Regions from separate parts of the Homo sapiens genome. Here region 2 is linked to region 1. The links are contacts of gene promoters, found by promoter capture Hi-C in blood cells and fetal thymus (Javierre and others, 2016). All regions are on one chromosome and are shown on one strand. Each heading gives the region's core, a stretch centred on a gene start or on the middle of the fragment in contact. The rest is flanking DNA. Distances are from core to core; before and after follow the strand shown.

Region 1 (3,077 bases), core at 239-2,738:
GTCAATTCCAAATGGCCCGTATTCAGTTTTTACCCATTTGAATTCTGACCACACCTATTTCTAAAAACTGTTTTCTCTCCTGGACATAGAACATTGCTCTCTCTGGGTTGCCCTCCAAGGTAGAGGTGACTCTTCCTCCGTATCGATTCTCCCCTTGTCTTTGGAATACAATTGGCCCCCACCTCTGGTGAATTCTGGCAAGGAACATGGCTCCCCGGAGAGAAGATGCAATTCCCAGATGACTGTGCAGAGAGGGAGGCCATGAGACTATGCTCAGGTCAATAGGATGTGAGTTGAACCGATCTGGGCAACTTCTGGATGACATCACTTACAAAGGAGCCGCTAGTCCCCTCCTATCTCCTGCGCTTTCCTACCCGTGGACATGTGGGTATGGTGGTGCCCAGCCAGCTTCAACCATGTGGATGAAGGTAATTCCCTCGGGGAGAGCAGGGAAGACAGGGAGGGCGAACGCAGCCTCGTGTAAGATCTTAATCCAATGCAGAACTGCGAAAACACATTATTTGGTGAAACTAAGGAAAGGTTTATAATCAGACATCCCTCCACACTTCCCTGGGCTAGGGTCTCTTCTGCAGCTCCTGCTTTTGGAATCCGGGGGTCTTTTCCAAATCCTCTGATCGCTCCTCCGCGCCTTCGGGGGGCAGAAGCCTCAGGGGTTTCAACACCTACGGCTCCCCCGCCCGCGCCCACGCCAAGCAGGGAGAAATCCTCAGTGCAGACGAGCTGCAAAAGATGACTCCAGCCGCCCGCTCTGCGGAGCCGCGCCCAGCGCGGCGGACCCGCCAAATCTGGGGGCTTCGGCCCGGGGGAGCCGCTAGACTCGCGCCTCAGGTCCCAGCCCCGGCGGCCAGCGTCTCCCGGGCTGCAGGGACCGGTCACCGTCGGGAGGTAGCTGCGGCCCCGAGTGGCCGCACCGCGACTCCGACTCTAAATCCAAGTTAGGAGACAAGAAAGCATTAAAAACGACAGGTTTCGATCTTTCCGAATCCGTTTCTGATGTGCCCGACAAGCGACAGAGGAGAAAATGTATGACCTTTAAAAACAAAAGCGCCGGTTCTAACGGGCCGCGGGAGGCGCGCAGGGCCGCTCCGAGGAGGGCAGACGGGAATCGGGGAGGGGCTCACCCAGTCTCCCGAAGGGCAGCCGATTCCTCTCTCCCAGCATCAGGTTGAATCTGGGGTTGTCTCGCCGCAGCCTCTTCCAGTGGCCGGTGGCGAGGAGCAGCCGGGAGACCTCGGCGTAGACGCTGCTGTTCTCATCGCGTACCACGAAGGTGTACATGGCGAAGCGCCGCGCGCCCGGGCCGCCGGGCAGCCGCCGCAGGGACCAGGCGGCCGAGAAGGCGGCTCAGCGCGGACCCCGCCCGGGCGCCCGCCGCGGCCCGGCCCCCGCCGCCCGCGCCGGCTACCGCGCCTCTCGGGTGCCGGCGGCGCCGCGCCCGGGCGCCCGCCGGGTGCCGGAGAGGAAAGCGCCGCTCGCACGCCCGCCCCCGCCGGCGCGGCCCCGCCTCTGTCCCGTGATTCCGCGCGGCCCGGCCCCGCCGCGCTCTGGAGGAGCCCGTGGGCGGCGGCGCCGCGCCCTTTCCGTACCCTCCCCCGGGGGCGGCGGCGGCGCAGGGTTGGAGACCCGCGGCGGTGGGCGCGGCTTTACCGCAGCGGGCGGACTGTGCGGTGGAACCGGAGCCCGGGCCTGGGGTGGTTCTTTCCGAGCCCCGGGTCGCAGCCGGGGGGCGGTGCCGGCGGAAGATCCCAGTTTGCAGGGCTCGATCTGGGTTTTTCTTCTATTGCCAAAGGACCTTTAATGGATAAAACCCAAAAGTTCTAAGGCCCGGTCCTGTGGCCTAATGAAGAAGCGCTTCCTCTTCCTCTTTGCTTAACGACTACGGAGACCCGGAGCGTCGGTTTTGTTTGTGTCGAGTGCTCCTTCCTTCGGCTGAGCCCAGGGTGGCGCACGGCCAAGGGGATGACCTTAGACTCTGCTGGTGGAAGCAGGTCCCAAACCGACCCCCTGGAGCCCTGGGCTCCGCTCTTTTCCTGCCTTTTACCGGCATTCAGCCACTTGCTTTCCCTTCTCCGGACCTCGATTTCCCCTTATGAGCGGCGGAGAGTGGCTCTTAAAAGTCCCTTCGGTTCTGATAGCCCACTCTGAAGACTGTGCTGCTGCATTTGAGATACAAAGAGAAGGCAATGATCATCAGAGCTCCCCCAAACTTCCTACAGTCCCTCATAAATTACCCACATCAGCCCTGCGCCTTGCATCTTTTACTCTCCTGTAGATAAAGAACACCCTGGGGCCTCTCCCCTTCCTGTCCCCCGATGCTCACGGTATCTACCCGAGCACATTGTAAAAGCGCCCTTCTCCTTCCCATCGTTGCCCAGATTCCACGGGGCCGCCAGGCGCTCACTCGCCTGTCTTGCGCACCGGCTCCACCTGCAGGCAACCGCTGGCTGTGGAGAGCCCGCTCAGAGCAGAAATGGGGCAGACTTAGAGGTGCTGGGTGCTTGCACTCCTTCCCAGCTGCTCTCCCTCCACGAGGGATAGAGTTGGTCGAGAATGCCCTGGCCCTCTCGCCCTCCGCACGTGCCCTGCGGGGAGGCGTGTGTCCTAGGCGTATTGCGGTGGTCCTCTGTAGGCCACGGCTGCGGTTGTCCACAGCTGCAACTTGCTCATCAGGGCATCTTCTGTTGGCTTCCTTCCTTTCCCTGACTACCGATGTTTCCTGGGATCACCTCCCAAAAAAACTACTGTACTCGTGCTCAAATTCTTGTTCCAGGGGGCACCGTTTGGGGGAACTCGAGCCAAGACGCTGTGTTTGCCGCTCTTCACGGCTGATCACCTTGAAAGTGACGTCCACTCCCACCATGCTGCATCAATTCCTCCTGCGACTCCTACTGACGACTCCTGTGCCACAGGTGGCTTCTCTCTGCCACTCCACAACCGTGGATCTCATTAGGAACACCAGTGACCTTTGAATTTCCAAATCCAGAAGCTACCTTTTTCCTTTTTCTCACTTTTTGTAGCGAGCACCATTTTTGTTTCTTTTAGCTGTAGGTTCTGTA
Region 2 (3,077 bases), core at 262-2,761, 240 kb before region 1:
AACTTGCTGGGGTAGAAGCTCCAGATCTCTGCCCTGAGGAGGGGTAGGCTGGGTGCAGCCAATGACCCCTCCCCAGTGCCTCCTGGAGGCCTGTCCAGGCTCTGGCCATCCCTTCCAACCACCACGCATCCCTTCTGTGCTGAGCCTCCACCGTGGGCCTGCGTCCTTCCTCCCTCCCTCCCTCTGTCCTCCCCCAAGGTGAGCAGTCCTCCCCTCCTGGCCTGCCACTCTCCCGGCACCTTTGTCCCTTACTCCGAGAGGAAGGTGAAGCCATAGGCACCCAGCAGCACATTCCCGTGGGCGTCCACCTTCAGCAGGTTCCCATAGAGTTCATCGAACACCAGCCGCCTGCAGACGGGGGGTCGGGGGGCACTGTGGGTGGGGGTACCAAGGCCGGGTGGCCTCCCACCTGTCCTGAGCCACACACCTGGTGGGGAAGGTGGGGTCGTAGGTGTAGCGCAGGATCTCATGCGGGTACCCAATGCACACCAGGCGCTCCAGCAGCAGCTCGAAGGTCAGGGCCTCATAAGCTGGGGACTTGTAGGCTGCAGAGGCCCGGACAGAATCAGGGCTTTGGTGCCCAGCTGCCCACCCCTGCTCCCTCCAGCTCCCAATACGCTGTGTTCCAGCCCTCTCTACCAGCCAGAGTGTAGTCCATGTCGAAGCCAAAGCAACGAATCTTCCCCAGCGCCAGGCTGCGGTTGACAAAAATCCTGGGGAGAGAGAGGAGGATGTTGGCATCAGTCCACCAGCCCCCCAGAATCCAAGGCCCAAGGACAGAGGGGGTGGAAACCCCGCAGAGGAGGGCAGAGCACCCCCTGCAGCTGCAGAAAGCACAGGGGAAGCAGGTCAGGCCAAGCCAGGGCCCTGCCTGGACCCATGTGTGTCTGAAGGCAAGTGTGAGTGTGCATGTAAGCATGTGTGAGCATGTGTGCAAGCGTGCATCTGAGTGTGTGCGGGCAATCAGCCGCTTGCTGTCCCACCATGCAGGCATGTTATAGGCATCCAACCCTGTAAGAAAGTAGGTGCAGTTGTTGGTGTGAGGGTTGTCACCTTCTGAAATGGGACCCCAGTGTCCAAATTCAGAGATGATGTGTTTGTCACAATTGGATAGCACATGTCACTGTGTCCGTGGTGAAGGGGAGAGATCTTCGTGGAGGGAAGGAAGTGAAGAGGACCTCCCGCCGGAGTGTGTGTGGTCAGTTCCCTGATGGGTTGTTACAGCTATGGAAGTGCGTCCCTTGTGAGTGCAAGTGTACGTCTGCATTTTGGGAGTCCCCATAGCTGTGTATTTAAAGGAGCCCCTGTGTGCTGCTGTGGCGTGTGGGGTGTTTATGGGCTGAGACCCCTGGCCCCCACCCCAGGTGCCCATCTCACCGCTGGTGCCAGTCCTGCTTCGGGCCTTGAGGGGAGACCAGTCCCTCCGGCTCTCTCCAGTCTACACTGGCCATCGTCACCCAGAGTGAGGAGGAGGCAAGTGTCCCTTCCTCAGCCTCCTGCACACTATCAGTGGGGCCCAGCCACTCTCCTCTCCCTCAGAAGCTTCAGGCACCACTGACCCAGCTGGCCCCACCCTGTGCTCCCATCTCCCCCGAGCCCCTTTGAGGGAGGAGTCAGCCAGGACAGGCTCTGGTATCCCATCCTTTTCTCTAGAGCAAAAGCAGCAAGGATCTAGGAAGAGCAATTCATGTCCACTGCACCCTCCTCATTCCTAGGGCTTATGCATCCATGGACCTCAGCGGCCTGGAGAGTAGCGGAGAACCCAGAATGAGGCAAATGACGGGATACAAAGTCAGGAGGCTCCGTACTGTACTCATGATAAAAGAAATAACTCAGTACTCTTGCTTTATGCACAATTCTGACACATTTGGTTATCAAATTTCCCAGCTCAAGGCCATTTAGAGAAGACATTGCTAGAAGCATGCCAAGGGCTATAAGAATTGGGAAGATAACTGGGATCTCAGAATGGGGGGGTGGCAGAAAGTACAAAAGGAAGTGTCAAAAAGCAGAACCACTGGGGCCATTTAGTGTAGAGTTCTAAATACTCCCTGAGGGCCCATACCACTGGCTCCACAACCAAGCATGTGACTTCCATTTGGAGCGGTGACCTGGATCATCCAGAAAGACTTAACTGAAGTGCCAGGCCCTCTTTTAAAAAGAAAGACAAGGCTGGGCACAGTGGCTCACGCCTGTAATCCCAGCACTTTGGGAGGCCAAGGTGGGTGGATACGTGGTCAGGAGATCAAGACCAGCCTGGCCAAGATGGTGAAACCCTGTCTCTACTAAAAATACGAAGAAAAAAAAAATTGCCCTCTTGGGAGCCTGAGGCAGGAGAAAAAAAAAATTAGCCTCTTGGCAGCTTCTCGGGAGGCTGAGGCAGGAGAATTGCTTGAACCCAGGGGTTGGAGGTTGCAATGAGCCGAGATTGCTGCACTCCAGGCTGGGCAACAGAGTGAGATCCTGTCAATAAAAAGGGAAAGAAAAAGGAAGAAAGAAGGAAGGAAGGAAGGAAGGAAGGGAAAAGAAAAGAAAAGAAAAGAAAAAGAAAGAAAGAAAGAAAGAAAGAAAGAAAGAAAGAAAGAAAGAAAGAAAGAAAGAAAGAAAGAGAAAGAAAGAAAGAAAGAAAAAGAAAGAAAGAAAGGAAAGAAAGAAAGAGAAAGAAAGGAGGGAGGGAGGGAGGGAGGGAGGGAAGGAAGGAAGGAAGGGAAAGGAAAGGAAATGAAGAAAAGGAAAGGAAGAAAGAAAAGGGCCTGGCGCAGTGGCTCACACCTGTAATCCCAGCACTTTGGGAGGCCAAGGCGGGCAGATCACTAGGTCGGGAGTTTGAGACAAGCCTGGCCAGCACGGTGAAACCCCATCTCTACTAACAATACCAAGATTAACCAGGCATGGTTGCGCATGCCTGTAATCCCAGCTACTCAGGAGGCTGAGGTGGGAGAACCACTTGAACCCAGAAAGCAGAGGTTGCAGTCATCCAAGATCGTGCCACTGCACTCCAGCCTGGGCAACACAGCAAGACTCCGTCTCAAAAAAAAAAAAAAAAAAAAAAGACAGACAAGTTTACAGTCGGTTTCAGC

Evidence for each region. Contacts are between HindIII fragments. The CHiCAGO score rates a contact against its expected background, and 5 or more counts as called.
Region 2: the fragment with the promoter of NT5DC4 here is called in contact with the fragment with the promoter of TTL in region 1 in 4 of 17 cell types (erythroblasts, M0 macrophages, endothelial precursors and 1 more); the score reaches 6.7 in erythroblasts.

Annotation. Positions count from the first base shown.
Region 1 is chr2:112,480,567-112,483,643 of GRCh38, reverse strand. TTL (tubulin tyrosine ligase) reads right to left here and starts at 1,488. Exons shown (of 7, transcript NM_153712.5): 1 at 1,143-1,488. The coding sequence starts at 1,299. RefSeq lists silencers at 718-817, 1,378-1,767 and an enhancer at 2,088-2,157. The HindIII fragment of the contact is 5,056 bases long and covers 1-3,077 here.
Region 2 is chr2:112,719,454-112,722,530 of GRCh38, reverse strand. It overlaps NT5DC4 (5'-nucleotidase domain containing 4), which reads right to left and starts at 1,511. Exons shown (of 17, transcript NM_001393655.1): 1 at 1,378-1,511; 2 at 640-713; 3 at 428-545; 4 at 253-348; 5 at 1-48. The coding sequence starts at 1,451. The HindIII fragment of the contact is 3,072 bases long and covers 1-1,544 here.